2 separate regions of the Homo sapiens genome follow, and region 2 is linked to region 1. The links are contacts of gene promoters, found by promoter capture Hi-C in blood cells and fetal thymus (Javierre and others, 2016). All regions are on one chromosome and are shown on one strand. The core of a region is centred on a gene start or on the middle of the fragment in contact, and the rest is flanking DNA. Distances in the headings are between cores, read along the strand shown. Region 1 holds the start of PCBP1-AS1 (PCBP1 antisense RNA 1). Region 2 overlaps AAK1 (AP2 associated kinase 1).

What was found. Contacts are between HindIII fragments. The CHiCAGO score rates a contact against its expected background, and 5 or more counts as called.
Region 2: a fragment that was not itself captured here is called in contact with the fragment with the promoter of PCBP1-AS1 in region 1 in 1 of 17 cell types (naive CD8 T cells); the score reaches 5.1 in naive CD8 T cells.

What each region holds. Positions count from the first base shown.
Region 1 is chr2:70,085,471-70,088,390 of GRCh38, reverse strand. PCBP1-AS1 (PCBP1 antisense RNA 1) reads left to right here and starts at 1,376. Exons shown (of 11, transcript NR_033872.1): 1 at 1,376-1,413; 2 at 2,767-2,844. It overlaps PCBP1 (poly(rC) binding protein 1), which reads right to left and starts at 914. Exons shown (of 1, transcript NM_006196.4): 1 at 1-914. The coding sequence starts at 647. It also overlaps a transcript of ASPRV1 not described here. RefSeq lists enhancers at 1-492, 1,698-1,907, 1,948-2,037, 2,178-2,317 and silencers at 828-887, 1,338-1,487. The HindIII fragment of the contact is 2,991 bases long and covers 1-2,373 here.
Region 2 is chr2:69,639,579-69,642,498 of GRCh38, reverse strand. The region is part of intron 2 of AAK1 (AP2 associated kinase 1); the gene reads left to right. Among named protein-coding and RNA genes, the nearest start is that of AAK1, 2.7 kb to the left of the region's middle. The HindIII fragment of the contact is 3,236 bases long and covers 1-2,920 here.

The sequences.
Region 1 (2,920 bases), core at 127-2,626:
CCCTCCAGGTCATGGGTGGCATGGGGGTAGCCCGCAGCGTCGCTGCACCGATCTTGGCCGCCCGCGCAGATGACTGGGGAGCTGGCCGGCATGGGCTGGTACGGAATGGTCATGACTCTCCCTTGCGGAGACTGGGAGAGCGTCTCCAGCATGACCAGGCAAATCTGCTTGACACACTCGGTGACAGACTGCGGCACGCCAGCGATGGTGATGGCCCGCTCGGTGGAGTTGGGCAGCATATCCCCCGCCACCTGGACCTGCGCCCCCGTACTCTCGCGGATCTCTTTGATCTTACACCCGCCTTTCCCAATCAGGGAGCCGCACTGGGTGGCCGGCACCACCAGCCTCAGGGTGACCGGGGGCCTGCTGGCCGCGGTACTGTTGGTCATGGAGCTGTTGATATCTTCCTCCAGCTTGTCGATGATCATAGCGAAAGCCTTAAAGATGGCATTGGTGGGGCCGGTCAGAGTGATGATTCTCTCCGGACAATTCCCCTCCGAGATGTTGATCCGCGCGCCACTCTCCTCGCGGATCCTCTTAACCGACTCCCCTTTCTTCCCAATGATGCTTCCTACTTCCTTTCCGTGCATAAGAAGCCGAATGGTGAGAGTCACATTTAGTCCACTTTCAGTCACACCGGCATCCATGGCGAGCGGCGGGCGGCGTTCGGGGGAGTTGGGCTCGTTACGTGGTCAAGTCTTTGGCGGCTGGCGGGGGGAGGGGAGGTGTAGGCCCAAAACTGCCGGCGCGAGGCGAGCGAGGGCCGCGGGAGCGAGCGGGAGCGGGCGGGAGGCCGCAGCGTAGTCGCAGGGGCGGGCGGCGGCGGCGGAGGGGGCGAGCGGGGCCGGGAGCGGCGGGCGGGCGGGTGGGCGAGGGCGCGGCGGTGGCGACTCCGGCGGCAGCCTCGGCGGTCTGGGCGGGGCGGGAAGCCCGCTTTCAACCCCGCGTACCCTCTGACCCCGGAAGTGCTTGCTGCGCAGGACCCCTTGAAAAAAAATGAGGACCCGTCTTTTTTAGGTCACAAGATTGCGCCAACCCTTACATGGTCCTTAAAAAAAAAACCTTCTGACACTGCAGTAGTGAAAATGAAGCGCACGATGGGCGGAAGCTGTGAGTCCGGCAAAGTTTTAAAATGATGACGTATTTTATTAACTCTAACGGCACTGGCGGGTGACTGAAAATACTAGTGCTGTGTATGCGGGATAGACATTATTTTCCTGCCCTACATGAGGGGCTCGTGCGCGGAACGACATGGGCAGCCCCGGCGGAAACTGCAGGCACAAGCCGGGACGCCGCGGGTTTAAAACATGCGCGTGAGGTGACCAGAGCGCGTGCGCGAGGGTGTGGGGGGATGGGAGGGGCAGCAGCCCTCTTCCGGGGGGGAGGGGCGGCGAGGCGAGGCCTGCGGAGCGGGTGCGCGCGGGCGGGCACGTGGGGCCCTTTCGTCCCCGGCGTCCGGGCGCCCTGCATGGATCCCCCACCCCAGCTCCTGCTCCCCGGCGGCGGCCGGTGGGCAGAAAGACCGAAACCCACTCACGGCCGCCTGCCGAATCGCGGCTCTGCTGTTTGTGGGGCGTGCTAGAAACGTGGTCCTAAAAAGAATGGCGTCCATTTACATAATGCTTTGTTTGCGTTTCGCAAGTTTCTTTCGGTTAAAGCCACAGAAACCCCACCTCCTGCCCTTGTGTCGTTTCCACCGCGGCACCCTTTTCCGACATTAGAAACAATAGTGTACGCCTGTGGAGGCCTCGTTTGTTCAGGGGCTGCCGGCCAGGGCTTCAGGACGTTTCTGCGGCTTTCCCCGCGCGGCCTGGGCTCCCGCGGCTGCTTTTCGGGCCCATGGGCGCAGCCACTGCGCCAGGCTCAAGGGGGGCGGCCCCGTCAGGGCCCGCCATCTTGGAAGGCCTTTTTTGCCGGTTCTTCCCGCTGAGGAAGTGTCGCTCAAGACGCTGGCCTATGAGTTGTGATTTCTGCCTTTTCCCCTTCCTCCTTGGGCTAAGCCAGACCAGAAAGGGCCCCGTGCGCAACGTGCTTCACAATCTCTCAGGGAAAGCGGCTAACGTGGCGCTACTCCGCCTCCCCTGTTCCTTACCCTTGGGGCGGCCGCCATGTTTCCTGAACACAAAATGGCGACACGTGGTTAGCATTCGTCGCCAACGAGAAATTGGGGTCGGCCCGAAAGCTCTAGAATGCACCCCTCTTCCTCCCCGGGGCCTTCCACCTCCGCGAGTTTTATGACTTAAAAAAGCCCACAGGCTGGTCTGAAGGTCGGAGGCCTAATTTTAACGCGTTTTCCTCCCTTTAATTTGAAACGGGAACGCGAATGACTGTAAAATGTGGGCACAATATTTAATCTCTCGCCTTTTTAAAGCTTAATAGTGGATAATAGGGGGGCAGTATCAAGGGATAATTTGGGTCCCCACAGTACCAAAGCATTTAGAAACCTCTGTTTAATTTAAGGAATGAGATAAGTTACTGCTTTTCTAGACTTCCTAGCATGGGCTGTTGTGCTGGAGAGAACGAGAGCTACGAAGAGACTACAGTGCCTCTGACTTTTTCATAGGACAGTTGGCCGGTGAATCTTATTAATAGTTTACCACAATTAAGTGTTCATTTTTAGTCTAGAAGGGACAGGCGTTTATTGTGCATTGGCCAGTGCCAGCACATCCGATGCAAGGCAGTTCACCGTATTCTATCTTTAATTTTTACCATGGTCCTCTGAGGTAGGTGTTCTTATCTCTCTCTCTCTCTCTCTCTTTTAAACAGAGGAAGACAAACATAAAGATGAAGTGCTTAATTCAAGGTCACACAATGTCGGGGATGGACCTCCAGATTTCCTTACTGGTGAGCACATTTTCCAGGTTTTTCTGTAAATCAGGGTTTTGGAATTTAAATACTATTTAAAACGTTTAGGTGAGCT
Region 2 (2,920 bases), core at 295-2,794, 450 kb after region 1:
GGGGACTTTTAAGAAGAGAGGGGTTTCTCCTTCTCCTACCCAACTTTCCCACTTCCATGAGCAGGCATTGGAAGGAAGAGAGGATTTTCGGAGAACGTGAACGTGTTTTTCCAAGGGCCAAGGCTCTTGGTGGATTTCACTAGTAGATTTGTTTCCTGACCCAACTGTAATCAGGTCCCCAGGTTATAGCAAAGATAACAGAAATTACATAAAACAAATGTGGTTATTTTGAACTCAGTCTAGTAGGCCCCTCTTCCTTCTCGCTTTAGGTTTTGTTTTTTGTTTTTTTAATCAAAAGAAAAATTACTTGAGAGTGGCTCTGATTTTGTTTTTTCGCTATCAGAGAGGATGTTATTTAGATCTGCTGCATAAATTCCCTCTGTGTTTCATCTGTGTGTCTATACTCACGTAGATATACATCTTGATTCCCCCAGGCTTTCGGGAAATCTTTGCATGTCTCTTTTGGTAACCTTAACCTCGACCTTCATAATTATGCCAGACTCATACTTTTCACAGCCCTTCGCCTGCCTAGTGTGCTTTTATTTTTAATAAAAGCAGCAATTTCCTTGGCATGAAGCAATTCAGACTGATTGGATGGGGCCAACCTGCTGTAGGTTGTGTTATAGACCGAGAGGGGTTGGAAGAAGGGAGAGGTCTCTCTTACTGCAACATGGTGATGGTAGGGAACAGTTTTATTAGCAAGGGAAGAGAGAAAGCTAAGAGGCCTCTTTAAAAAGGGGCCTTTTGCAAGCTAAAGTTGAAGCAAGGGTCCTGACCTGGGCCTGGGAAATGCTTACCATGGTGGATGTTGCGGGCTGGTGGGTGGGTTTGGAAGAGGAAGAAGCTGTGTTTGGCTCTCAGCTTGTGTAAGCACTGGATTCAGCAGGGCCCAGTTTTCTGGGAATAGAGTTGAAGTCTGTACTTTAAAAACATGATTTTTAAAAAAGATCTCTGACAGTTAATGTCCATGTGAAATTATTGCTCTTCCAATCTCAGTACTGTTCTAGCTGCGCTTTATCTGGGGCCAGAGTCACTGTCCCCTTGGATCTTTCCCGTGGACTTTGGTGCAGGCTAGGAGATGCTTCTGTGCCCGCTGCCAGATCCGCACCCTTGAGTCTGATCTGTCTCTTTCATCCCTGTGCCAAAGCCCTTAACTGCAGTGGGGTGGAGAAACAGTGAAAAGGAGAGTGTGTCAGAGAGAAATCAGGAGAAACGAAGGGCCACAGAACACTTTCCTCCCCTCTGAATGGCCTCTGCTGACCTTATAGCCCACGAGCGTTTTGTTCAGCTAGGATGTTGTCTCATCACGGATGATGCTGCCCTAAGCGGTGCATGTTCTCCAAGTGTGAGAGAAGTGATAGGGAAAAGAAAAGGCAAAATTGGTCTTTGTTACCTAGGCTGCCTTCCTCTTCTCTGGGATTCATCTTTGAGAACTGCGCATCACGTATTGTGATATTTTTACACAGAATTTAGGACTTGTAGCTCTGCATTTATTCATTCAACAGTTTATGGAGTTGCCTGTGAAGTGCCAGGTGCTGTGCTAGGCTCTGGGGGTATACTGTTAAACTAGATGCTAGCTTTTACCAACTGCTTTAAGAGATGGAAAATAGCCAGTTATAGTGGATTGGTAAATGCCATCATAGAGATAAACTTAGGGTGCAGTGGCCCCCAGTTTTAGGGAGCCCAGGATTTCTGAAGGAAGTGACTGAAGAGTGAGTAGGAGTTAGTGTGGTGGCACCATGGGCAAAGACAGAGTAGCGAGAGAGAATGTCACGTAAAACTGGGTCTGGCTATGCGCCCTTTTTGTGTTCTTTGGCTTAAGTTGAGTTTGAATTTGTGGCTCTTAGAAGTATGTAGATATGTAGGAGCCAGTATACAAAGTATTTATGTAGCACCTACCAAGTCCAAAGACCCTATGAAGTTCTGAGATGGATGAGGGAGGTCTATAGTGTGATTGACATCTGCCTTTAAGGATCTGCCAATGAATTTGGGAAGATGAGGCATACATTCACACATACAGTAGCATGGTTACCAGCACTGTCTGTAGAGTCAGACAGATCTAGGTTCAAATTCTGGATCTGTTCTTTACTAGCTGTGGAACTGTAGGCAAGACATTCCAAACCACTCTTGAATCTCTGTTTCCCTGTGGCAGTGGTTCTCAAAGTGGGGCATACTTATCACCTGCGAGCTTGTTGGAAATGGAGATTCTCAGGCCTCACTCTGTAGGCTGTGGGTGTGGGGCTTAATAAGTTCCTGGAGAGATTCTGACGCAAGGTCAAGTTTGAGAACCACTGCTTAATGGGCTGGTCATGAAGATTAAATGAGGCAATATATATAATTAACATTTTCAGGTGTTCAATAAATGGTAGCCATTACTTACCAGCAACGTTATACATCATATGTATATATGTGGGGGGGGAGAGAGAGAGAGAGAGAGAGAGAGAGTGTGTGTGTGTGTGTGTGTGTGTGTGTGTGTGTGTGTGTTAAAGGGGAGTGGGAGCAATGTGAAAGCTAGTTGAGCTGCAGCAATCTGAAGCAATTCCTTTCCCCCATTGTTAGGGGACAGAGCCAGATGTTCTTTGCAGAGTCCTCACCAGCTCCTTAAAGGCTTAACAGACGTTTTGGGTAGCCATGCTCCTTCCCTGGACTCTCTTCTCTGTGAGTCCCCGAGTGCTGACTTATCTACAGTTCTAGCCAGAGTTGTTTAAGGACCACAGGAGTTGTACCCTGTGTGCCCAGAGCGGTGGCTAGGCAGTTTAGGGAGGAGTGGTGTGAGAGGCTTCAAAACACAGACCAGATTACCACCACATTCCGCTGATGATCTCTTTTTCTCTAGCGTGGGTATTGGTCTGTGCTTTTTCATAAGGAATTGCAAGAACCCCAAGGAGCAGGTGCTGGGTAAGACAAAAAGATGTCGCAC